5 separate regions of the Homo sapiens genome follow, and regions 1, 2, 3 and 5 are each linked to region 4. The links are contacts of gene promoters, found by promoter capture Hi-C in human tissues and cell types (Jung and others, 2019). All regions are on one chromosome and are shown on one strand. The core of a region is centred on a gene start or on the middle of the fragment in contact, and the rest is flanking DNA. Distances in the headings are between cores, read along the strand shown.

Evidence for each region. The method cuts DNA at HindIII sites, captures the fragments that hold promoters and counts their contacts. A contact is called where the count stands out against the background at its distance.
Region 1: a contact is called between a fragment that was not itself captured here and the fragment with the promoter of TTF1 in region 4, in 1 of the 25 tissues and cell types used here (lymphoblastoid cells).
Region 2: a contact is called between a fragment that was not itself captured here and the fragment with the promoter of TTF1 in region 4, in 2 of the 25 tissues and cell types used here (spleen and thymus).
Region 3: a contact is called between a fragment that was not itself captured here and the fragment with the promoter of TTF1 in region 4, in 1 of the 25 tissues and cell types used here (lymphoblastoid cells).
Region 5: a fragment that was not itself captured here is called in contact with the fragment with the promoter of TTF1 in region 4 in 2 of the 25 tissues and cell types used here (bladder and heart right ventricle).

The regions. Positions count from the first base shown.
Region 1 is chr9:132,257,218-132,261,888 of GRCh38, reverse strand. It overlaps SETX (senataxin), which reads left to right. Exons shown (of 26, transcript NM_015046.7): 26 at 1-533. Among named protein-coding and RNA genes, the nearest start is that of SETX, 95 kb to the left of the region's middle. The HindIII fragment of the contact is 4,266 bases long and covers 1-4,084 here.
Region 2 is chr9:132,597,630-132,602,661 of GRCh38, reverse strand. All of the region lies in intron 19 of DDX31 (DEAD-box helicase 31), which reads left to right. Among named protein-coding and RNA genes, the nearest start is that of BARHL1, 18 kb to the right of the region's middle. The HindIII fragment of the contact is 4,533 bases long and covers 1-4,091 here.
Region 3 is chr9:132,239,654-132,244,654 of GRCh38, reverse strand. It overlaps NTNG2 (netrin G2), which reads right to left. Exons shown (of 8, transcript NM_032536.4): 7 at 3,611-3,745; 8 at 129-2,779. The coding sequence ends at 2,544. Among named protein-coding and RNA genes, the nearest start is that of NTNG2, 80 kb to the right of the region's middle. RefSeq lists silencers at 2,396-2,465, 2,936-2,985, 3,136-3,625 and an enhancer at 4,414-4,931. The HindIII fragment of the contact is 6,383 bases long and covers 1-5,001 here.
Region 4 is chr9:132,404,191-132,409,231 of GRCh38, reverse strand. TTF1 (transcription termination factor 1) reads left to right here and starts at 2,392. Exons shown (of 11, transcript NM_007344.4): 1 at 2,392-2,442. The HindIII fragment of the contact is 7,318 bases long and covers 1,335-5,041 here.
Region 5 is chr9:132,272,607-132,277,878 of GRCh38, reverse strand. SETX (senataxin) reads left to right here. Exons shown (of 26, transcript NM_015046.7): 22 at 727-819; 23 at 2,459-2,623. Among named protein-coding and RNA genes, the nearest start is that of SETX, 80 kb to the left of the region's middle. The HindIII fragment of the contact is 3,482 bases long and covers 1-3,357 here.

The sequences.
Region 1 (4,671 bases), core at 702-3,201, 150 kb after region 4:
CGCTTCGTCTTTGCCATGGCATTAAAAGAAAGTTCCCTGTCTTCTTTCAATATTAGTTATTTCAAATGAATATGTGCTACTTAAAAGCTTGTTTTGTTTCTTTGTATATAATTTGCCTTGGATTTATTGTGCACAGTTTGTTGAGTTGTATGTTTTTGTGAATTATCAGGAGTAAATTTGACAAGTACATGTGAATAACCTCCTGTAAATGAATTTTATAACAAAAATGTACTGAACTATTTTTTAAAGTTGTGCAGATTAGCAATTTTTTGCTATAGCTTTGACTTTTCTATGCTGTGAATTAATAGCTGCGATTTGGCAAACAGCCCTGTTGTCTTTGTTAAACCCTAAATTTTAAGAGGAAATGGCAGAATTAAAAGCAGAAACAAGAAGATGGACATGGATTAGAGGTTATGTATTATGAAGTAAACTACAAGGTACTAACATCATTTCGTCTGCCATTTGGTTTGCTTTATGCTGAAATTACTTGGTGGGGATTTGTGCAATTCAGATATAAAAAGTTTCATTATCCAGCCCGGCCCTCCTTCCTAGCTCCTTTTGGAATCTTCTCTGTACAGTAATGAGGTGCATTGAGGCCAGCTGTGCTGTTTAGTTACAGACTGAAGTTTGGTCCAACAGAAATATGTGCTGATCATTAGGCTGGAATTGGGGTGGAGGTGAGATAGGAGGAACAGATGAACAGTGACCCGTGAAAGGAGCTGCCAGAAGCACTGGTGGAGGGACAGGGTAGAATTGCCCTTGCCAGGGGTAATTGCTGATGGTTATGGAAGTGGAACACACTTTATAAAACAATAAACTTCAGGAAATGTAGTCAGCTTCCCCACACTTGTGCCTGTTAAAAGGCACTTGACCTCCGCCTCTGTGTCTCCTTCTGTACCCAGAAGTGTGTGCACACAGCCCACTTGGCCTGCTTGGCTTGTTCAGTATGCATACACAAATTACCAGGGAGGGTAAAATGGTGTGTTTGGGACTTAGGGGGAGTAATAAATTTGCCCAATGGCCTGGCGAGAGATGAGTGCTGCATGGTGGTCATTTGTGGAATTGGTTATGCAGCAGCCTTAGTGATGGTTTTTGAAGTCACCAGACATCTCTTTCCTGACCCATCCGCCCCCACAATCGCCCCCACCTCCTGGGTTTCACCATTCATTGAGGAATAAATAATTGAGGGACGAAACTAAAATTTAGCCTCAGCTCAAATAGAATTGATAATGTTGTACAGCACCACAAAGGCAGTTTCTGTACACAAGGGATCCCTCCATGACTCCAAAGACGTGAGTTATCGTCACCCTGTCCTACTACACAGAAGGCATTTGCCAAGTCAAATGGCAGAAATGGCATATTCGTAGTTTGGGTGTTTGAAACTGCAGGAGGAGGAACTCTGTTGCTGTCCTGTCAGCTCAGTAGACACAGTTATCTTTGTTTTCAAGCAGCATTGCAACAGAATTGTCAGATTGGTAGTTTTCAGCCTTGAGTTTTTAACCTTAGGGAGCACATTGGGCTCACTTGGGGGCTTTTAAAAAAAATTCTGAGGTCGGGTGCGGCAGATCATCCCTGTAATCCCAGCACTTTGGGAGGCCGAGGCTGGCGGATCACCCGAGGTCAGGAGTTCGAGACCAGCCTGGCCAACATGGTGAAACCCCGTCTCTACTAAAAACACAAAATAACCGGGTGTGGTGGTGGGCGCCTGTAATCCCAGCTACTTGGGAGTCTGAGGCAGGAGAGTCGCTTGAACCCAGGAGGCGGAGGTTGCAGTGAGTAGAGATTGTGCCACTGCACTCCATCCTGGGTGACAGAGCAAGACTGTCCCAAACAACAACAACCAAAAAAAAAAAAAAAAAAAAAAAAAAAAATTCTGATTGCCTGGGATCCATCCTAGCATTACTGATTTACTGGTTTGGGGATGCAGCCCTTGGTATTCTTGTGGTGTTTTGTTTGTTTGGTGTTTGTTTTTTTGAGACGGAGTTTTGCTCTGTCACCCAGGCTGGAGTGCAGTGGTGCAATCTCGGCTCACTGCAACCTCCGCCTCCCGGGTTCAGGTGATTCTCCTGCCTCAGGCTCCCTAGTAGCTGAGATTACGGATTCCCACCACCATGCCCGGCTAATTTTTGTATTTTTAGTAGAGACGGGGTTTCACCATGTTGGCCAGGCTGGTCTCGAACTGCTGACCTCAGGTGATCCGCCTGCCTCGGCCTCCCAAAGTGCTGGGATTACAGGTGTGAGCCACCGCGCCCGGCCCCTCTTCGAAGCCTTTCGTAAACATTAACCCTAACAACACCCCGAGGTTCCCTGGATACTTTCCCTTTGCTTAGGAGAGCATTGGTGAGGACTTGGGCTGTGGGCCCATTCACCTGTGGGTCTGTGGCACGCTAGCCCGCCTGGTGCCCCTTCCTGCCTCCAGGAGGACGCAGCTGCACCCAGACGGCCAGAGCAGAGCGGGCAAGATTTCATCCTCCCCGTGCTCTTCAGCTCCTCGGCTTGTGCGGAGAACCATACACACCGCCCCCGGTGGCCGTGGGCGGGACTGCAGCTGCCCCGCCCCTGTTAGGCGGATGTGCCTGGGCCTTCACTTCAGTAACTCCCACGTGTGACCCCAAGAGACAGGACACGCAAAGCCCATGCTTCTCAAAGGGCTGGAGGCAGAAACCCAGGGTCACCCCCCCACCAGGCTCCCTCAGACACCGGCTTTGCCACTGCTGAACTAGGATCACCAGCCTCCCATCCCCCTGCCCCTCTTCAGACCCCTGAAGCCGTAAGAGTCATTCCCCTGCCTCCTGCCTTAGCAGAACTGGGGCTCACCCTGCAGCCATTATTTATTATACACTCGCACCCACACACATGTGGAGTGCCCCTGCCTGGCTCACTTCTGTCTGCAATTCCTGGGCTCTCCAGCCTGGCCCCCTAGAATGTTCTTCATCCTTTTACCAGGCTCAGCTAGGAGGCCTCCCTGGGGAAGCTGGTCCCTGTCTGAAGAGGCCCATCTGCCACACTCTGACCCTGGCCCCACATCCCTTAGCCGGCTCCCAGGGCCAGAGCACAGTACGCCTTCCGCAGACAGGTGATGTTTCTTGTTATTTATTTTTTTATGTTGAGACCGAGTCTCGCTCTGTCGCCCAAGCTGGAATGCAGTGGCGCGATCTCGGCTCACTGCAACCTCCACCTCCCAGGTTCAAGCGATTCTCCTGCCTCAGCCTCCCGAGTAACTGGGATTACAGGCACGGGCCACCACGCCCGGCTAATTTTTGTATTTTTAGTAGAGACAGGGTTTCACCATGTTGATTAGCCTGGTCTCGAGTTCCTGACCTCGTGATCCACCCACCTCGGCCTCCCAAAGTGCTAGGATTACAGGCGTGAGCCACCACACCAGGCCTCTTGTGTTTTTTTTTTTTTAATTTCATAAAATATTTTCTTACAGGCTCCAGTAAACCTTCACCAATTTACATCAGTTCCTATTCCTCACCAGCAAGAGAACAAAATAGACGGCTACAGGTGAATTTGCAATATCATTTTTACAGAAGGCTGATTAGCAGTTAACACAGTAAGGGGTCCACGTCGATTGACTTCCCAGAGCTGGGCCAACACGGCAGGGTCCTAGATGCTTTCCCTGGGGATCTTCACTCCTTGGAAACTCACGTGTGGTTTAAGCAAAGCATTTCCACGGTAGCCTCACGTTCTTGAGTATCCACATCGGTACTGCTGAGACCACCGTGCCACTGATGGGGACAGCCGAGAAGTCTTTAGTTCATGTCTTTTGCCCAGCAGTGTCCTTTTCCCACTCTTTTTCTGTTAAGCTCTAAAATCTCTTCCAGCCTCTGGGTGAGGGAAGGTTGGTAAGCACACTTCATGCCCTCATCACATTGTTCTCTTTTGTGTATACCTCGTTCTCCATCTCGCCCCTCCCTGTCCAAGCTCCACAATTTAAAAACACTGAGTCCATCACGAGGTCTGTTTGTCTCAGTGGTCAAGGTGGACTCAGCCCCTGCCGGGATGGACCTCACTGTGGGAGAGTGGGACTGGCGGTTATAACACACCCAGGCTTTGCTTTCATGAAGGGCCTGCAGTCAGTCTCAGGTCCTTCCCAGTGCCTTGGTGAACTTGGACCATCTGGTCTCTCCTCTTCCCTTTCAATGACACAGAGCAGCTGGAGTTTCCTAAAACAAGACTGTATCCTGTCCTTCAGATAAGGATGCGTTCTAAGACCTCTCCTTCTCGTCATCTTTTCTGTTTTTGAGGCAGCTGTTTGTTTCTTTGTTTGTTTTGTTTGTTTTTTGAGATGGCGTCTTCGTCTGTCGCCCAGGCTGGAGTGCAGTGGCGCGATCTCGGCCTCCTGTTATTTTTTTAAAGGGAGCTATTTCACGCATACAGAGTAGGATAATAATAGTATAAGGAACACCCTGTACCCACCATTCCTGTTTCTTTACCTTAGATCTTTTACTTTTTAAGGAAATAAATGAAGAACTATAGATACAGTTGGAGCCCTGTGGCATGCTCTGTCCCTCTCTCCCTTTGCAGAAGTGACATGAGCCTGAGACCTCACTACATATGTGCGCAGCCATCATGTTTTCTTGGTGTGTTTTTAGCCCTCATATGAAAAGTGTTATACTGCATCCACCTTTCTGTGATATAGATTTTCCACCCAGCACTATGTTTTAA
Region 2 (5,032 bases), core at 576-3,075, 190 kb before region 4:
GGGAAATCATTGGAACAACTTTGAGAAGAGATGATTATAAGCAAGATTTGGATCTAACTTTTTTTCCAGTTTCCTCTAGGTCTGGAAGCAGAACGGTACAGTGCTAGGAGCGTGGGTTTTGAAGCCAACATTCCTGAGTTTGATTCCAACTCAGCAGCTTAGCTGTAAAATGGAGGTGCTGTAGGGTTGTTGTGTAGGGTGTGGGGAAGGGTAAGGAATGTGCAGCCTTAGCTCAGTGCTGATCTCAGAGTGGGTGTTTGATAAACAGCTGTCTGCCCTGTCTCACTTCCTCTCTTTGATCTGTAAATAAAAGATGGAAACTACATAGAGTCTTCCCTGAGTCTGCCCAGCCTGGCCCAACCTGGTCCTGTGGGTCCCACTGCACTTCCCATGGTTGCTGTGGCCTGTGCTTCAGCACCCCTGGCGTCCCAGTGCCTTGCAGCCCCCAGGGCTGTCCATTCATGGACCTGGCTTGCCATTAGAGCTTCTGAGAATGAGCCAGAATTCACTACTTTCATTTTCCACCCTTTGGTCTTATTTCCATTGTTTGGCCTCTGTGAGATTCAAACGCTGTGTGTACATGATTTGCAAACATAGAAGTGATGTTATTGATCAGACCAGGCCTTAGTTCACATGACAATATGCCACATATCTGAGGATGACTCCTGTCTCCTCCCCTTTTCTCTTTTTCGTGCTGTTAATAATAACACTAGTCAGCATTTACTGAGTACTTTCCTAACAGGCTGTGTGCTGAATAGAGTGTTAGCTCATTAATCGTTGTAAGTGAATAACGTGGGACTTAGAGAAATAAGTACCTTGGCCGAACTTCCAGAATCAGTTCTACAGCCTGTATGAGGTTGTGCCAGGACCCCTGCTCAGAGGGGCTTGTTTCTGGTGTGCCTGTCTCAGGCTGTACGAAGGCCCAGCTGCATTTTGGTCTGTACTGTTGCAGCCTGTCCTCTGGATGGCTCGGCTCCACCCATCCTATCTGCCCAGGTTCTTTTCAAAGTCTGGTTCGTGAAAGTATCCAGACTTACAATGGAAACTGCCCAGCAAGAAGTATGGGGCAATCACGTCTGTTAGTGCAGGGGATGATAATGGCAGGGATGGCGGCTCCACTGATGGATGCTCAGCAGTGGCCAGGCACTGGCCCCCATGATGGATGGCCATTGTGGTCCTCACTTCAATCATGATGTTATCCCTGTTTTACAGAGGAGGAAACTGCCCATGATGGCACCACTGTCCACTGGGCAGAGCCGCGATTCGAACCCAGACCTCTGGTTTCAGGTTGAAACTTGCCAACTGAATCCCTGTCCATTTGCATATGTGACAGTTATGCCACCCTACCTTCTAACAGCAAGACCTGACATCTGTCCCAGTTCAAGCTCACCTTGCCAGCGTAGGCCCATCCCTTTGGTCTCCTAGACTGTTGTTATTTTGTCAGCCAGTGTATTAGCTGTTCCTGCAGATGTGGTAGACATGCCTCATGATTTCATCCAGTTCACCCACAGTGTCAAACAGGACAGGCCCAGAGGGCTGCGCTCTGGGGTGTGGGGCTGGGATTCTGCCTCAAGCTGGTCCTTCTCAGTCAGTATTTTCAGTGTGTAATCATAACAGTTCCAAGCACAACTCACTGCTGCCATGTTCACCCTGTATTCTCCATCTTAACAGTAATTCATAAGGCTTTCACAGAATTAAAATGTACCGAGCTCTCTAACGCACTGTAGGCTGTTTTACCTTCATACTGGCCATGTGCCTGTGCATAGGTCCTTTCTGATGTACCGGGAAACGAAGCTTGGAGAAAGCTGCTGTGACTCTACAAGGTCATCAGCTAGGCGAGTGGCAGAACTGGGATTCCAACCAAGGTCATCAAATTCTGGTCCTCTGCCCGTCCCCAGCACTGCCACCTGCCATCTGAAGTTCCTGCTTATGTTCTGACAGAACTTCCTAAGAGTTTTGGTCACCTGGGCTAAATAGTCTCAAAGTTCCCATCCATTTCTGGGGCTCTGGTGAAGCCCTTCATTTTCAAACATCGGCCATATCTAAATATGATCTCTCCTCTTTCCCATCATGTGCATGGCCTTCCAGGCAGCAAGTGTGCCGGGCCATCCGCGGTTTTTCTCAGTTGTGGTCTGTGCTGCCTGCCACTGTGCCTGTCCTTGGCCCAGGGCTCGGAGTTCTGAGCTTCACTAGATCTTGATCTTTGGCACAAAGCTGAAGTCCACTTTTCACCAGCCTCTGTGTCCACAGAACCCCTCCTAGGAATGCTGCTGTGATTCCCATGATTCCCACTGCCACAGCAGGACTCAACTGGAGCCGAGTGTCTTCTGGGGCTCTGGTAGTTTTACAAAAGCTAGACTTGATTGGATCCTAAGAAATCACAAAGAAGGCATCCCTAAAACAGCTGGTCTGCCAGCATACTTCTCTACCAGAACAGAACCCAGAGGTTGAAAGAGTCTAGATACAGTTCCTTTTCCTCACTGACCATAAAAGGTAGGGTAGCATCCTCCTTGGGTTGGCCCATGCCAAGGTCAAGTTGTCATGACATCCCACACCAGCTTATTCTTTCCCTCAGCTCCTCTGTGTACAAGCATACGGAGGGCCCGCTTGTCACATTCCCCTGGAGTTGCCTGTTACCCTCACTGTGACCTGAGAGCCACCAAAACCCTACCCAGACATTGCTGCCTTTTTGTCCTCCATAGAGTCAGGCACAAGTGTAGAGACTTATAGTCAGTCCCGGGCCACCTGAAGTCCTCACGGTCTCCTGCGTTCACTGAGAGCCCAGGCTTTTCTTCCCATGTGGGGGACTTGCGTCGTCAGCAGAGACCTTCAGGGCCTAGCCGTGGCCCTGGAACATGTGCTTATAAGCAGCCTCGTTCAGATTAGAGGAGTGCACTTGACTAGTCCTCATTCTGAAGAACCCCTGTCTGTCTGTCTGTCTATGTTTTAATTGTACTACACCCTCGCAAAATCAAACCAACTCAAAGCCAAAAGGCAGACAGGTTTCTGATGAGTAGAAATTAAAATACTCTGGCATTTCACTATAGGACAAAATTCTACCATTTGCTTTTGTTTCCCCTTAGAGTGAATATACTGTTATTTTCTAATTATAAAAATAATGCATGCTCATTGTAAAACTACAGGACATAGGGAAAAGCTCAAAAATTAACCATAAGCCTACATTCAGGTTAACCCTGATACATTTCCTATATCCTTCAGACTTTGCACGTATACATACAGGCATACAGATTTATGTATATTAAAAACATTTTATGCCAGGAACTTGCCCCTTGTTTTGAAAACTGTAGCATGGTGACAGACTGCTATGGTTAAACTCTGTGAAGTCAGATTTCCTGAGTTCAAATTCCAGCTCTTGCATTACTGATTTTTGGCCCTGGACAAATGACCTAATCTCTCTGTGCCTCAGTTTCCTTACCAGGAAGTGGGGATACTAGTAGTACCTGTTTCAGGCGGTGGTTGGAAAAGTGAGTAAGTTAAATGCCTATGTCATGTAGTCGGTTTGGATGGCTTTGATTTTACCTGTTTTACATTTAAATCCATTAACAACCCATGTAATTGGTATTCGCTTCAATGTTTTCATCTATTTGTAGAGCCCATGAAGGGCGCCATTGTGGTCATCACTGCTTTTCACACAGAGCCTGCAGGAAGTGCTCTAGAGGAGCGTTTCAAGACCTTGGGGAAAAGAGTTACTGTTCAGTGACCGTTGTGGATAACTGGATAACTCTTAGGAAGAAACAGTTCATTTTTCTATTAATCAAAATAAAACTTAGATGGAATTAAAGCAGTAGCAAGCTAGATGAAAATATACTTTAATATTTTTGAAATCCTAGAATGAAGACTTTCCCAAACATGACCCTAAAGCCATAAAACATGGAAGAAACTATTGATAGCCTTAACGGTACATAAATAAAATTTAAACTTCTGTCCTATAAAAGAGTGCCATTAGCAAAAGCCTGAATTAGAATGGGTTTTTACCTAGGAAGATCATTGTGAGAATGTAATGATAAAGTTGGGAGAAGGCCCTGCGATCTCTCTTCTCCAGTGGTCATTGTAACGGGGTATATTGATTTACTAATTAGGCTGTGATTTCACCTTATTGGTGGTGCAAGTGGCATCTGCCTGTCTTGCTGAGTAATCCAGCCTGGTAACTGAGGGGGGGTTTATTCAGCCTTCACTACAAGGGAGTTCCCTGTGGTTAGATAAACTGATCTGTTGCTTGGTAACTACAGGATTACTATGGTGGATGCTCAGGAAGGCCATTGGAGAGGGGTGCGGGTATTTGGAGGGCAAGGAGGGCGAGAAAGTTGGCAGGTTCCTGGGAGCACTGCAGCTTGGCAGAAGGAGAAATTGAGTGCCCATCGCATGCTTGGGTTTAGAGCATTTCATCTTCCCATCTGTACTTCGCCTTTTCAGCATTGGGCCTTGGAACAAAGGAAAAGGAGACAGGGAGCTGGCCAAGGGATGAATGGGTTTTGTTGAGGTGGCTGTCATGACAGCAGGTGAAACCCCTGCAGGGTTGGCCTGAGCTTCTCCCACCTAAGGAAGAGGTCTGGGCTAGAAAATGCCACCCTCTGCCTGCTTGCTGACCACCGGAACCTCTGAGTGAGTGGACTGCTGGCTTTGCATCCCAGGTCAAAAGGACATTGACTAACATGATGAAATAGCCAGGAAAGGTGGTGATGATAACTGAAGGCACGTAGGACCCATCTCCAAAAGGTGCTTTCGAACGGCGTCCTCTTCCACCACGTGGGCCCTCCTGTTCCTATTCAGTGGCGCAATGTACGCACCAGTGGTTGCCTTCCTCCACCCCAGACCCACGGTGTTTGTGAAGGGACAGGTCTGGAGGAGCTGTAGAAGTGGCCCCGGTGGTGTCTGGGTGTCTGCCTGTTGTGTAGGCTGCATTTGTGGGTGTGGGCTTCTGCTCTGTTGGGTGGATGGCAGCCTGGGAGCACGGGCGCACTGCCTGAGCGCTGGTGCCTGGAAGATGCTCCCGCAGCCCGCACCGCTTCTG
Region 3 (5,001 bases), core at 1,696-4,195, 170 kb after region 4:
GCTGCGGCCAAGGAAGGGTGGGTTTCAGTCTCTCTCTGGCCTTAGAGGGCTCAGGGGGCCCGGATGCCAATCAGGCAGGGCCAAGAACTTGGAAAGTGTGCATGGAACAGAAAACCCAAATTCTAGTGTTTTAATCACATCACCGTTTATTTTTTTTCTCACACAGTAAGACAGGCAGGTGGTGCGGTGGCTCATGCCTGTAATCTCAGCACTTCGGGAGGCCAAGGCCGGAGGCTCACTTGAGCCTAGGAGTTTGAGACCAGCCTGGGCAACATAGTGAGACCTCAACTCTATAAAAATAAGTAGATAAATAAAAGCAGTGCAGAGGTTGCAGCCAAGGCAGGTGTCCCAGGCTCTGCAACTTCCACCCCCGGCTCCACCCTTCACTATCCTGAGGGTGACACTGTTATGCTCAGTGTCTCAAGAAGGCTCCTTCCCCATCCTGCTGACTGAAGAGCAGAGGGAGGGATGAGAGAGAAAAACCAGAGCCACAAACTTGGACAACTGAGGCTTTGTGGGGCGTGGAGGAAGGGATGACTTTTAAGAACTTTCTGGAAGCCCACCCATCAGTCCTGCTTACATCTCACTGCCCAGAGCTGTGTCCCCTGGCCACTCCTATCCACAAGAAGCCCCAGAGAGGTGTTTTATTTTATCTGGGCACTTTGGGTCCCAGGCAGTGGGGTTCTGTGCGTAAGGAAGAATGTGAGGGTAGAGATGGGCCAGCTGCAGGAGGATGCAGGGCCTGTCGGAAGGCACTTCCGGGTCAGCAGGGTGCTGGGGGTGGGAGCAGAGAGAGGAGGCCAGGAGGGGCTGGTGTGTGGGCTCGGGACACTGTGAGTCCTATGCAGTGTCCCGTTGTGCCTCCCCCTCCTTTTCTGTGTTGTAATCTCCTGCTGTCCCCAAGGCCAAGTTTGTTCCACTTGGTCTTAGCTTAGCTTTGGGGACTCAAGGGAAGGACCCAGGTCTAAACCTCGCAGCTGGGAAAGAACAGGTGTGGTGGCAGAAGCCAGTGCTGGGAGCACCTGCAGGTGGAGCAGTGGCAGCAGTTAGCAACCAGGACCGGACCCCCGGCACTGCTCTGAAATAAACATAGGTGGACAGGAGGCTGGACCGAGGGGGAAGTGTGGCCCCAGGGCTGGAGACACCAAGCGGAGATGGGAGAACTGCTGGATCCTCTGAATCAGAGGCCCCAGGGGATGAGCCCCGAATCTAGGAGCTTCCTCACCACTCCCAAGCTGCCCCTGTCCCCTCCAGCACCCCTTCCTAATCTTGAGAAGGTAGGGAGGACAGGGCCGGCACGTCTGGGGTCTCTGCACTGCCCGCCTCTGCCCACCTGGCCATCTGAAACTCTGGAAGGAGGCGGTGGCCGAATTGTGGGTTCAGCTTCATCTGATATTGGACTTGAGGCTCCGGCTGCAACAGGTCTGAGATGACACATCCATCGGAGGTGGCCACCGAGACACAGTATAAATCAGAGCATTGGATTCAACCTCTGCTAGGATTCTCCCTGAGTCATTTCCCTTGGACTTCTGTAGAAAAGGGCCAATACACTCCGGATTTCTTTTTTGGGAAAGGAGGGAGGCAGCCTTTCAGTGTGGGGAGGCTCCTAACAGGTGGGGCACCTGCAGCCTGGCCGCGGGGTGGAAAACTCTGCCAGCCAAGCCTGCGGGGAGGGGGCACTGCCTGCTGGAATCCACAGAAAGGCCCAGGGAAATGGTGGCCCCAGTAGGGAAACCGTTTCTTTAAGGCTGTGTTGTGGATTCCTCTGTAAGCCCCACACCTGCCCACCGTCCCCAACACAGAAAGAAAACAGGCCGTGGAGGCAGCAGTGAGCAAACTCTTTACTCCTCGGATTCTCCACCATCGGCCCCCGCGGTGACCAGTGCTCCCGCCCCGTCCCCCTTGCAGGGGACAGTGAATACAAACAAAAATAGTTCTCTACAGAACGAAGTTTCCAGGCCCCCCACCCCTTCCTTCTCTCCTCCTCCCCCAGACGGTGAGTTCCGTGGTCACCGGGCCTCCGGTGAGGCCTGGGGTCTGGTGGGTTGCAGGAAAAATAAAGAATAGAAAACAGGACCAAGTCAGCGACTGGAATTGTAGGCAACTGGAGGTCGGGGTCCGCCGCCGCCCGTGAGCCTGGCACAGGCCAGGGGGTGTCGGCCACAGTCCCGTGTGTGTAAGTGTGGTGGGAGGCAGGACGGGGTGTGGGGCGAGCAGCGTTTCTCCCGACCCTCTGGCTCACCGCCAGAAAAAAAAAAAAAAAAAGAGAGAGAGAGAAAGACAAAAAAGGAACTGGGCGGCGGATAATACAAAAGAAAAACGAAACCAAATCGCAGGCGCGGGGACCGGAGTCCCAAGGCGCCCCTGCTGCGGGGGGAGGGCAGTGCGGGCGGGAGCGCGGGCCGGGCGGGGGGCCCTGCTGAGTAGCACCTGGGAGCACCTCGGGCCGCACCCTTCTCACCGCCCGGCCTCGGACGCCGGCCCCGCCCCGGGACCCCGGGACCCCCGGCCTCCGGGTGCGGGGAGCGTCCTCCGGGCGGGGCTCAGCGGCCCAGGCGGGCGGCCAGCCCCAGCAGCAGCAGGCAGCCGAGCAGGGTGGCGGGGCGCGGGGCGGCCCCGGGCGCGCGGTCGCAGTCCAGACCGCCGTCATCGTCGGCGGGGTCGCAGCGGGGCTGCTCGCAGCGCACGCCGGTGTAGCCGCGCGGGCAGGCGCAGCGCTGGTTCTGCAGGCAGGTGCCTCCGTTCTGGCACAGCAGCTGGTCGTCGTCGCACACGTTGGCTGCAGGCGGAGGGGGCGGTCAGCACGGGGGGTGGCCCGGTCCCCCCGCCAACCTCCGAGCTCCTGCGAAGCAGGGTGTGCGAGATCCCGGGGGCGCCGTCTGGGCCGGGGATGTAGGAGGCTCCAGGCGCGCTGGGTGCGAAACGTCCCCCCTCGGAGGGTGACGGCGCCCGGGCGAGATCTGGCCCCCGGCTGCCTCCCACCGCTGCCCCTCTCTCCCCGCCCCACTGGCCTCGGTGCTGTTCTTCAGACGCGCCTGCAGTCTCCAGAGCTGTGCACGTGCTGTTCCACGCGCCTGGAGCCTCCTTTCACCCTGTGCCCGCGGCTAACGCCGACTTGGACAGCCTCCCTCCCTCTGTCCCCGCAAATACCTTTCCAACCAACCCCAGCTCGGTCTTTCTCGTAGTTCCCACCAGGCACCACCGTGCCTCAGGTCGCATCAGGCCCCGCCCCGAGCTCTTGGACCCGCCCCTCGGCCCGGCCCCGGACCTCAGCAGCATCCTGTCCCCGCCCACCTGCCAGCTCCGTCTCGCTAGGCCCCGTCCACCGCCCCCGGGTCGGCCCCATCTCACCAGGCCCCTGCCAACTATCCCAACCCTGCCCCGCTCTCACTAGGCCCCACCCACTGCCCCGGCCCTGCCCCGTCTCGCGAGGCCCCGCCCACCGCCTCTTCCCCGTCCCACTAGGCCCCACCCACTTCCCCGGCCCTGCCCCGTCTTGCTAGGCCCAGTCCACCGCCCCTGCCCCGTCCCACTAGGCCCCGCCCACTGCCTCGGTCCTGCCCCGTCCCCTTTCCGCAGGCCCCGCCCACGGGGGACGGCGCGCACTCACGGTAGCAGCCCTGGCGCCAGTAGTGCGTGGGGAGGCAGTCGTCGCACTTGGGGCCCGCCGCGCCCTCGCGGCACTCGCAGAAGCCGGTCTCGTTGCACCGGTCGTGCACGGAGCCTATCTGGTTGCAGTTACACTCTGGACGGACACGGGCACGGGCGCGCGGTCAGGGCTACGTGTGGGCGCCGTCTTCTCGGACCCCCACTCTCCCGGCCTCGCAGGGAGCATCTCCACACTCCCCAGGGGATGCTCCCCACACTGGGTCCACGTGAGCCCGCGGCTGGACGGCAGGTGGGGACTTCCCAGGGTGGCCAGGCCTGGAGAGAAGACTCTGGCTTCCTTCCTTGGGATCAAACACGTCCCAGCCCCACCTTCCCCGCCCTGGCACTGGTGTGGCCTGGGTCAGCCCCTTCCCCTCTCTGGGCAACTAGAGGGGTCGCTGTCCTTCCCATCTCCAAAGAGCTATGACTCCGACAGGTGGCAGAAACTCAGCAGAGGCCACTGAGCATGTCTGGGGCTGCTGTGTTGTGGGGTGGCCCCCCTCCATAGCTCCTTTGCAGGGGAGTGGAGGAACAGCCTATTCCTGCTCCCGGGGTGGGCCCAGTTGGTTGCCTTGGGGCTCTGTGGGAGAGGGTGAATATCGTCCACCCTGAGAAACCTTGCAGCTCAGTGCTGGCTCTCGGGGTGGAGGCAGGGAGAGCCAGGGAGAGGAGGAGGGTGCCAGGGTGTGGGCACCTCTAATTGGATCCAAAGGCCCTGCCCTGTCCCTGCAGCTGGCCCCCTGTGACGTCAGCGGCTTTGATCACTTAGAGTTGATGGAATTATCTGAAGGCTGCCGCCAGAATTCAGACCGACAGCTCCAGCTTTGCAGGAGCCCCTCCTCTGGGCAGCCAGAGCCTCCTGCTGGGTGGGGGATGGGTGATGGTGTCCCAAGGGGCCTGGCTGGGCAGGGTTGGGGGACAGCCCCTGAGGCCGAGACCTGGCCTCTACTGACGACAGGGGCAACCATTCCAGGCTGGTGCGTTTTGGTTGGCGGTCATGGCTTTGGTCTTTGCCCAGGCCCAGGGCCCTGATGGACTTCCTTCTCTACCCAAAAGCCAGTCCTTGAGTAGAACTTGGAAGAAAGCAGACTGGGTGCCCACCAGGGGTGAAGAGCAGCTTTATAGCTGGACCTGGGCTGGTAAAGCATTTGAAGAAAAGCTTCAGCCACAAAAAAGAGCTGAAAACCTTTGATCTGATCTGCCTCCCAATTTGATGAATGAGGAAGCTGAGGCCCAGGAACGGGAAGGGACTTGCACAAATGCACGCAGCAAGGCGATCTTTTGGCCCCCAACTGGGCCCCTGCAGGAGGAGGGATAGGCTGCTCCTCCACCTTTCTGGAAAGGAGCTATGGA
Region 4 (5,041 bases), core at 1,143-3,642:
TGACAGAATGAGACCATGTGCCAAAAAAAGAAAAACGAAGATTCACAGGACTCACCCCAGACTCACTAAATCAGAATATCTGGAAATGGCATCTGAGGCTCTCCTTTTTTTTTTTTTTTTAAGAGACGGAGTCTTGCTCTGATAATGACATGAGCCACCTCACCAGGCCAGATGCTGCATTTTTAAAAATCCCCTTACCCACCCACCCACAACTTGGTGAAAAAGTTCAAACCTACAGAAAAGTTGAAAGTCGAAAGAAGAATACAATGAAAATACATATAGGCTTCACCTAGATTCGGTTAGATTTTGAAGGGAAGGGGAGGGTTAAAGAAAGAGTGGCGGCTCTACAGCAAATTCAGGCTTTATGTCCAGCATGAGACCTACAGAGGTGGGAGACCAGCTTAATGCCAGTGCCTACCGCTGCTTACAGGCTGGAGAAATTATAGGCCTGGGCGGGGAGGGGCCCGGTGGGTATGGCCTGCTGCCCGGGAAGATGTTGATAAGGTATTCCCATGATGAGGCAGTTTGGCCCTTGTTCTGGTGGAACGTGATGTTCCTGTCACTTTCTCCCAGCAGAATATGATAAGAGGCAGGCTGTTTCTCACTGCCTGAACCCCCGTGGAATGTTTCACTTTAAGCAAGGTCTGCAAAATGGCAGGGGGCTTACAAAATGGTGCAGTTTGGACTAACAGATTCACCCGTCCCCAGCACTGGTCACATTTTCTTGCTCTCTCTCTGTGAGCATGCACATACACACATTACAGAATCACCTGAAAAATATCTGTCAACACCATATTTAACCCTAAGTACGTCATCATGTAGCAAGGACATTCCCATGTGTAACTACAATGTCATTATCATGTCCGAAGATTTTAATGTGATACAATAGTGTTTAATATAAAATCCATTGCAAAGTTGAGACTCTGCATTTGAAAAAAAAAAAAAAAAGCTTCCCAGGTGATTGGTGCAGTTGGAGGAGGATTGGAAACCACTATTGGAGTTTTCCTGAATCGATACTGGATGATATCTAATCTCTCCTCTAGTGCCAGCCTTTTGTGGGTTCATTCATGCATCACTAGCACCACAAGGCTCTGGGTAAGTGGGGTCACCACAGAACACGTGACACCAATGACGGACCTGGACTTCAAGGCCTTCCATATCAACAGTGGACAACACCACATTTACAGACTTCTCCAGACGGAGCTCCAACTGCACGTCCACATCCCAGAGCAGCCCTTGCATGGCAACATGAGTACATACATAGGCTCATCGTTTCTCCAACCTGCTTCCCTTCCAGACTTTCACGGAAGCATAGTTTGTGCATTTTTTAATCAAAGCCACTTGGCAGATCACATAGAAGTCAGGTGGAACAGTGAGGGGCAAGATAGTGGAGTAGTAGAAAGAGCATAGGTCTGATTTCTGGCTGGCCCATTTAAGTCACCTTGGACAAGTTACTGTAAACCCAGGTTTCTCATCCACAAGGTGGGGCTAATAATACCTCATTACAAGGATTAAGTGAGAAAACTTGTTGCCTATATCGTATATGTTCACTATCCAAAAAGGTTAAACGTTTGGTTGGTAAATATAATGGCCTCGAATTGATGGCCAGGTTAAAGCTGCCCTTTTGGCTAAGTCTCTTCAGGACTCTGTTGAAATGGGAAGACTGGGATAGATCTCCAAAGCTCCTGCTAACTCTAAACTTCTGAGACTTCATCCAAGCTTAACATCCATCAGCCTCTGCACCAGATAGCCCCTGCAGACCTCTGACTTCCTCTCCCACCCCCTCCCCTGCATTCACATGCATTCACTTAGGCTGGGCGTGTGCGACCTGTCTGTCACCCTGTGGGTTCACTGTGTGGATTCACTCTGTGCTCCAGCTGCTCTGGCCTTGTCCCAGGTCCTCCAGCAACCAAGTTCAGGACTTTTGCACTCACTTCCAGCCTGGAACACTCTTCTGCCTAGATTTTTTGCCTGCCCTTTCCATTTAGAACTCAGTTCAAATGTCACCTCCTCAGTGAGCCCTCTCTTACATCTAAAGTAGCACCCACCGTCCCCTAGTCACTCTCCATCACGTCACCCTGTTTTATTTTCCTTACAAGATAATCTGAAATTATCTTAGTTGATTTGTCATCTGTCTTCCCAAGTTGTTCCTGGAGTTCACCAAAAACTGGAATAAATGGAATGCACGCATGCATTAGTACGTCAATGGAGGGGGATTCTGTCCTACTTTCTTCGTTTCAGGAGCACTCTCTACCCCACCTGACGTCTAAAGGACCCAGAAGGAAAATGGGTAGGCAAATGTGCGCGCCTCCAAGGCCTAGCGGCAGCCGTGTTACCATGGCAGCGTGACGCCGAGGGGGCCGGAAGGCGACGCACTACTACTTCCGCTTCCTCAACAGCAGCACTTCCGGGTTGGGAGAAAGGTGGCGGCGCTTTCGGAGGGTAAGTTGAAAGCGCCTTTGTTGTTTCTGTTTTTCAAAATGCGCGCGTAAAAACTCAGCGTGGGGTGGTGGGTTTCCCCGTCTTCTGGGAGACCCGCCTTTTGGCCTGAGGTCTCCAGGCCGCGGTCTTTGCCCCAGGCCTTATCTCGGGGAAACTGAGGCTTGGGTGTTTTTTTTTTTTTTTTTTAAAGATGGAGTTTTGCTCTTGTCGCCCAGGCTGGAGTGCGGTGGCGCGATCTCGGCTCACTGCAACCTCCGCTTCCTGGGTTCAAGCGATTCTCCTGCCTCAGCCTCCCGAGTAGCTGGGATTATAGGCGCCCGCCACCAAGCCTAGCTAATTTTTGTATTTTTAGTAGAGACAGGGTTTCACCATGTTGGCCAGGCTGGTCTCGAACTCCTGACTTCAGGTGATCCACCCGCCTCGGCCTCTCAAAGTGCTGGGATGACAAGCGTGAGCCACCGCGCCCGGCCGCGGCTTGGGTCTTTGGGAGTGAGAAGATGCAGAATTCACATCTGGTTAGTTCCTCCAGTCTCAGCCCTGGAGCGCCCACCCGGGAGCAGAGCGGGGTCTCTCTCGCACCCCAAAGGCGGTGAGAGAATCCGGGACCAGGTTTGGGCACGTACCTGCAGAGCGGGAAGTGTATGTTCTGAGTAAGGGGGGATAAATGCATATCCGTTCTCAATATGTATCGAGCACTGACTGGGGAGCCATTTGGGAGCAAGATGGCCAGGATTCCAGCCCTCAAGAAGCCGATCATATTATAACTGCCAAAAGTGCAATGGGGAGCAGCTGGTTGTTGGGAAACACTGTTAACCAGAAAGATGAGACCGGCTAAGGAGTTAGAGAGGTCCTCTTGAGAAAGTGGCTTTCATACTTGGACCAGTTAAAGGGCAGAAAGGTAATGCGGAGGAAGAGCTTTCCTGATGGAATGGGCTGTTTTTGCAAAGTTCCTGAGACGAAAAGGAAGGTAGTGTATTCTAGGAACTGAAAACAGCAGGGTTTCTGAAACCTAGAGAGAAGTGAGAGGTAGAGAGGTGGGCATGGACTTACCTCTGTCCATCTCTAGGCTAGATTATGAAGAAATGAAGACTCTTGCAGGTCTGTGAGGATTTTGACTTTATCTTAAGAATAACAGGGGAACCCTAAAAAGTTTTTAGCAGGGAGAGACTATATATTTAGAAGGTTGTACTGGGCTCCAGAGACCAGAGAGCAGCCTAGGAAGTATTTACAAAAAAGAAGGAAAGGAACTGATGGAAGGGGAAATGTTATTTAAAGAAATCAAGGCCGGGCGCTGTGGCTTACGCCTGTAATCCCAGCGCTTTGAGAGGCCGAGGCAGGTGGGTCACCTGAGGTCAGGAGTTCAAGACCAGCCTGGCCAACATGGCGAAACCCCGTCTCTACTAAAAATACAAAGATTAGCCAGGCTTGGTGGCTTGCGCCTGTAATCCCAGCTACTACTCCGGAGGCTGAGGCAGGAGAATCGCTTGAACCCGGGAGGCGGAGGTTGCAGTGAGCCGAGATCGTGCCACTGCACTCCAGCCTGGGTGACAGAACGAGATTCTGTCTCCAAAAAAAGAAAAAGAAAAAAAGAAAAGAAAAGAAATCAGCCAGTGGGTGGCTCACGCCTGTAATCCCAGCACTTTGGGAGGCCGAGGCGGTTGGATCACAAGGTCAGGAGATCGAGACCATCCTGGCTAACACGGTGAAACTCCGTCTCTACTAAAAAATACAAAAAAATTAGCCTGGCGTCGTGGCGGGCACCTGTAGTCCCAGCTACTCGGGAGGCTGAGGCAGGAGAATGGCGTGAACCCGGGAGGCAGAGCTTGCAGTGAGCTGAGATCACGCCACTGCACTCCAGCCTGGGCGACAGAGCAAGACTCCGTCTCAAAAAAAAAAGAAAAAAAAGAAATAATCGGCTTTGCTCTGTTTGTGATTTATTAAGAGGTCCTAAAAGATGGGCCTGAAAAGTGTCTGTTGAAATTTGTGGCTTTAAGAACAAAGGCACTCTTGCTGGAACGGTCTCAGTGGAGTAGTGGGGTGGGAGCTACCAGGATGTGGGTTAATAAGTGGATGAAAGGTGAGGTAATGGAAAGAGTGATTTCTCTTTCAGGAAATGTTGCTGTGAAGGGGAAGAAAGAGAACAGCTGGATGAGACTTTAGGGTTAAACGACAGTTGCATTTTTTTTTTAAGTTAGAGGAGATTAAATATTGTTGGCATTTTGCTAGAAAACGCAGGCTGAAGATACAGGAGAGAGATGAGAGAGAAGATACGGAGAGACCACCATCTCTCTGAGAAGGCAGGAGAGGGTTGGGAGCCAGCACACATTTTCCTTCCTATAACGGAAGGAAATAGCCTTTGACAGAAGGGACACTTCCTTTGTTGCAGCGAGACAGAGAGAGAGAGGATGTGGCAGTGCAAGTAGGTGTGTTAGACTTGGGGGAGTAACATATTCCTTGTCTAATACAGCTGATATTTACTACCCCGGATAAATTAGGTAGCTTCTGTAGAAAATGTGCTTAGCATTGAGACTTTAAAGACCGCTGATATAGAGAGAGCTCCAGGATCTATGTTGTTAGGTGAAAATAGCAAATGCAGATC
Region 5 (5,272 bases), core at 367-2,866, 130 kb after region 4:
ACCTATATTTATACTACCCAGAAATAATCACTGGTAACATTTTGGTATATCCACTTTCAGCAGTCCTTTTTTTTTTTTTTTTTTTTTTTGAAGACAGGGTCTCATTCTGTCACTCACACAGGATGAGTGCAGTGGCACACAGTCCTGGCTCACTGCAGCTTCGACCTCCCAGGCTCAATCAATCCACCTGCCTCAGCCTCCTGAGTAGCTGGGACTACACTCAGTCACCACCATGCCTGGCTAATTTTTGTATTTTTCTTTTTGTAGAAACGGGGTTTCGCTATGTTGCCCAGGCTGCTTTCGAACTCCTGAGCTCAAGCAATCCACCCGCCTTGGTCTCCCAAAGTGCTGGGATTACAGGCGAGAGTCACCGCACCTGGCCAAGTTTCAGTCCTTTTACTATGCATATCTTTTTTTACTTTTTAAATTTTTGAAGGAAAAATGTGGGACCATACTTAACATAGTATTCTGTGGCTTACTCTATTATGAGTGTCTTTCCAATCATACTTGTTATATTTTAATGATATAGACACCTCTCCCAGCACCAGGAAAGAAATAGAATTTGTTTTGTACCTTTCACTAATACACGTCTAGAAAAGAATATTCCTGCTATCCCCTTACTTGCCCCAGCCCACATCACCACACAGAAAAAATTGTAGTAATACCAAGATATTTTCTTAAATCTTGACTTTATTCTGAATGTTGACTGCTTTTTTTTTTTTACAGACAGACAGAAGCCATTCGATGTTCATCAGATTGGCCATTTCAGCCATACCTTGTGTTTGATGTTGGAGATGGTTCAGAAAGACGGGATAATGAGTATGTTTTCCTCTTGCCTCAGTCCTCTGATAGTCCCAGAATTGTTACATGATTTGCATTCATATTTCTGTTAAATACATTTCCTATACACATCTCTCTGCCTAGTGTCAGGGCACAGTCATGTTCACTTAAGTTGATGCTTCTTTTTTCTGTATAATGGGGATAATATTACCTAATGTCATAAGCAAGTGCTTGAGTAGATACTTGTTGAGCTCACAGCAGTGAGGGAAACAGACGTGCCCATTGCAAGATGGTGGTCTCATGGGAAGACAGGCCTTCAGCAGGTCATCACCTGGGTAAGCAGTTATTCCAGTTGGGTTAAGTACTGTGAAGGCTAAGTATAAATTCAGTTGAATGAAAATGTGAAAGGGAGGAAGGAAGTAGTGACAGAGGTTGGATGGTATTGGGTTGTGAATAAGGGCATGTGTTCAGGTGGTCTGTATATGACAGCAAAGAGGAGTGGTGTTGCTAGAAGCAGCAATGTCAGAGGAGCTGGGGATTCTTGTGAGAGAGTAGGGGAGGAATGGTCTAGGGGCAGCATTTGTTGGCACGGATACAAGTGCCACTCTGTCATGAAGTAGGAGGAAACACAAATCCCACTTCTACATCATGGGATGGCTGCAGAGCAGGTGGCGTCCTCAGGCGAGAATCAGGCGTTAGATAAGATACAGAGGTGGAAGTAGGGAACACTCATTGAAGAGGTTACACATACAGAGGAGTTGTTGGCCATGGGATTGTAGTGCTGGAGGGACTGCAGCCTAAAGGTTTTAATGAGGCCTCTTGGAGGAGAGCAGAGGATTGCGAGTTAAGCCGCAGAGCATCATGAGGATTTCAGGGATGGAAGAGATCGCTAGCTGATTGGGTTGTCCATTTAGTAAGTCTCAAAGTTAGGAGAATGGGTATTTAAGGCTCGTAAAGCAAGGCGGGTAAGGTAGCCTCAGGAATCAAGGGATGGGGCAGTGCATCCCCTGGTCTTGGTGCATTTTGGGTCCGGTATGGTCATGAGGGAGCATGTGTTTTCAGGAGGGGTTGAGAGTGCAGGATATGAGGCTGCTGAGGACTACAAAGAGGACATGAACCTGCTCCAGGGCCCCATGTTGTTCAACTGGGGTCAAGTGGGACACATCCTTCACATTGAGTCTGTGTGGATGGCAGCTGCTCGGTTGTGTGGTGTGTGTTGTATGCAGCCAGTGGTGAGGGACAAGGAAGATCATACATGTAAAGCATTTTCTCAGTGTTCGGAAGATAGTTAATCCTTAATTCATGTTAGCTATCTCTTATTCACATCTTTGTTCTTATTAATACTGCTGTTCTTAATACTGCTCTCCCTGTTTCAACAGATGAAGAAAGTGGTGCCTAAACTTCAGTTGATTTCAAACTCTTTTCTCTCTACAACTTCATTTTTCACTGGGCATTTCACATGTATTCATATTTACCATAGTATTTTCACATTTATTCATATATACCATATTAATGGTCATTGTAACAGCCTCTTGGAGTCACTGCTAGCTGAATAAAAGATGAAGCCTATCTGCCTGCCCTTTACTATAATGGGAAACAAACTCAGTGGAACTTAAGTTAGCAATTAGCCTGCTATTAGTTTTGATAACACTGTGTTTTCTTTTTCCATCTTGTTTAGCTCATATATAAATGTTCAAGAAATAAAACTGGTGATGGAAATAATTAAGCTTATTAAAGACAAAAGAAAGGATGTTAGTTTTCGAAACATTGGCATAATAACTCATTACAAGGCCCAGAAGACGATGATTCAGAAGGATTTGGACAAAGAGTTCGATAGAAAAGGGTGAGGCATTTTTATAAATATTTCCAATTTTCTTGTTGAATTAGAATGAGAGGATATAGAAGGAAAGAAGAAAAGGGAAACTCTTAAGGAGTGGTCTGTGCAAATTGGTGATACGGCACGAGGAAGCTGGGATGCTGCTGGCTTTCATAGACTTGTGCTGTGTGGCTCCTGGGTAGACAGGTTACTTCCTGGCAGTTGGAATGTCAACATTCTCCTTGGCAGTGGAATTGACTAAGAAACTTGCCAGGTCTTTACCTTTTAGTTCCATGACTTGTTCATCTGAATTCTTGTTCTAGCAAGACTAAAAGTAACATTTCACTTTAAATAAATGATTTAACCCTTGTATTGCCTTTATGTATAGAATGAAAATCATGTTTTTGTTTCCTTCTTACCTCAGCAGTAAAATTAAAGATTAAATATTGGAGATCCATAACCTTAAAATCATCTTAACTTAGAAGCACACAGACTACCAAAATCGAATCTAGAAAACAATAGAAAATCAGACCTGTAGGCTGGGTGTGGTGGCTCACACCTGTAATCCCAGCACTTTGGGAGGCTGAGGCGGGCAGATCACCTGAGGTCAGGAGGTTGAGACCAGCCTGGGCAACATGGTGAAACCCCATCTCTACTGAAAAAAAATACAAAAATTAGCCAGGCGTGGTGGCGCGCTCCCGTAGTCCCTGCTACTCGGAAGGCTGAGGTAGGTAAATCGCTTGAACCCAGGAGGCGGAGGCTGCAGTGAGCTGAGATTGCCCCACTGCATCACTCCAGCCTGGGTGACAGAGCGAGACTCCATCTCAAAAAAAAAAAAAAAAGAAAAAATCAGACCTTTATAACAAATAATGAAACATTTCCCAATAATGAAAAGCCCAGAACCAAGCTAAGCTGGTGAATTCTATCAAATATTAAAAGAAGAATGAACACAAGTCATTCTCACATGCTTCCAATAAATAGAACACTCAGATTCATTTTTTGAAGCCAGTATTACACTGATACCAAAGCCAAGGGAAAGTATCACAAGAAAACTACAGATCCAAATCCTTTATGACTAGATACAAAAATCCTCAACAAAATAGTGACAAACTGAATTCAGCAGGTTATTACAAGGATTTATACATCAAGACCAAGTGGGATTTATCCCAGGAATGCAAGATTGCTTCAACATATGAAAATCAATATGATATACCATATTAGAAGAATGAGGAGACCCACATAATCAGCTCAGTAGATACAAAAAAAAGTTGCACGGAACCCAAAATGCTTTGATGATTTAAAAAAAAAAAAAGAATACAAAGGAACTTTTTTTATTAATAAAAGGCATTTACAAAAAACTCATAGCTAACGTTATACTTCATGGTAAGAATGAAAGCCTTTCCTCTAAGATCAGGAGAGATGTTTGAAACTCTTAATGCTTTTTTTCAACATTGTACTAGAGGTTTTAGCCAGAGCAGTTAAGTAAGGAAAATAAATAAAAAGCATCTTTACTGGAAAGAAAAAAGTAAAACTCTCTCTTCATAGGTGGCATGATCTTATTTCTAGAAACCCTAACAAAGCCATTCAAAGGCACTATTAGAGATAATAAGCTTAGCAGGATACAAGATTAATATGTGAAAGTTGATTATATTTTGATGCAACTAGCAATGAACAATCTGAAAAGGAAGTTGAAACAATTCCATTTACAATAGCATCAAAAAGAATAAAACACTTCGGAATAAATAGAACCAAAGAAGTATAAGACTTGTACGCTGAAAACTGCAAAACGTTGTTGAAAGGAATTAAAGAACACCTAAATAGGCCGGGTGCAGTGGCTCATGCCTGTAATCCCAGCACTTTGGGAGGCCCAGGTGGGTGGATCACCTGAGGTCAGGAGTTCAAGACCAGCCTGGCCAACATGGTAAAATCTTGTCTCTACTAATTATACAAAAATCAGTTGGGCATGGTGGCACACGCCTGTAATCCCAACTACTCTGGAGGGTGAGGCAGGAGAATCACTTGAACCCGGGAAGCAGAGGTTGCAGTGAGCTGAGATCACTCCATTGCACTCCAGCCTGGGCGACGAGAGCGAAATTCCATCTCAAAACAAAAAAAAAACCACCTAAATAAATGTGAAGACATCCTGTTTTCATGGACTGGAAGACTTAGTGTTGTGTTGTTTTTTGCATTTTTTGTGTGTTTTTTCATTTTTAGTAGAGACAAGGTCTTCCTAAGTTGCCCAGGCTGTTCTCAAACTCCTGAGTTCACACAGTCTTCCCAAAGTGCTTGGATTACAGACATGAGCTACCATGCCCAGCCAAAGACTTAGTATCAGCGTGACCATTTCTGTAAAAAAGGCAGTTGGATTACATCTGTAGATCAATTTGGGGAGCGCTGCCACCTTAACACTAAGTAAATAACTTGTACTATGTGGTACAATGAAATATTAATGAAGAAAGGGATGAAGTTCTGTTACATGCTACAACATGGATGAACTTTGGAAATGTTATGCTAAGGGAACAGTCACAAATAATCACATTTTGTAATTCCATTTATGTGAAACTCACAGTATAAGAAAATCTGTAGAGACAGGAAGTGTATTAGTGGTTGCCAGGGAATGGAGAGAGGAGGAAATTCAGGCTAACCTCCAAGAAAATGTTTTTAAAATGTCTTAGC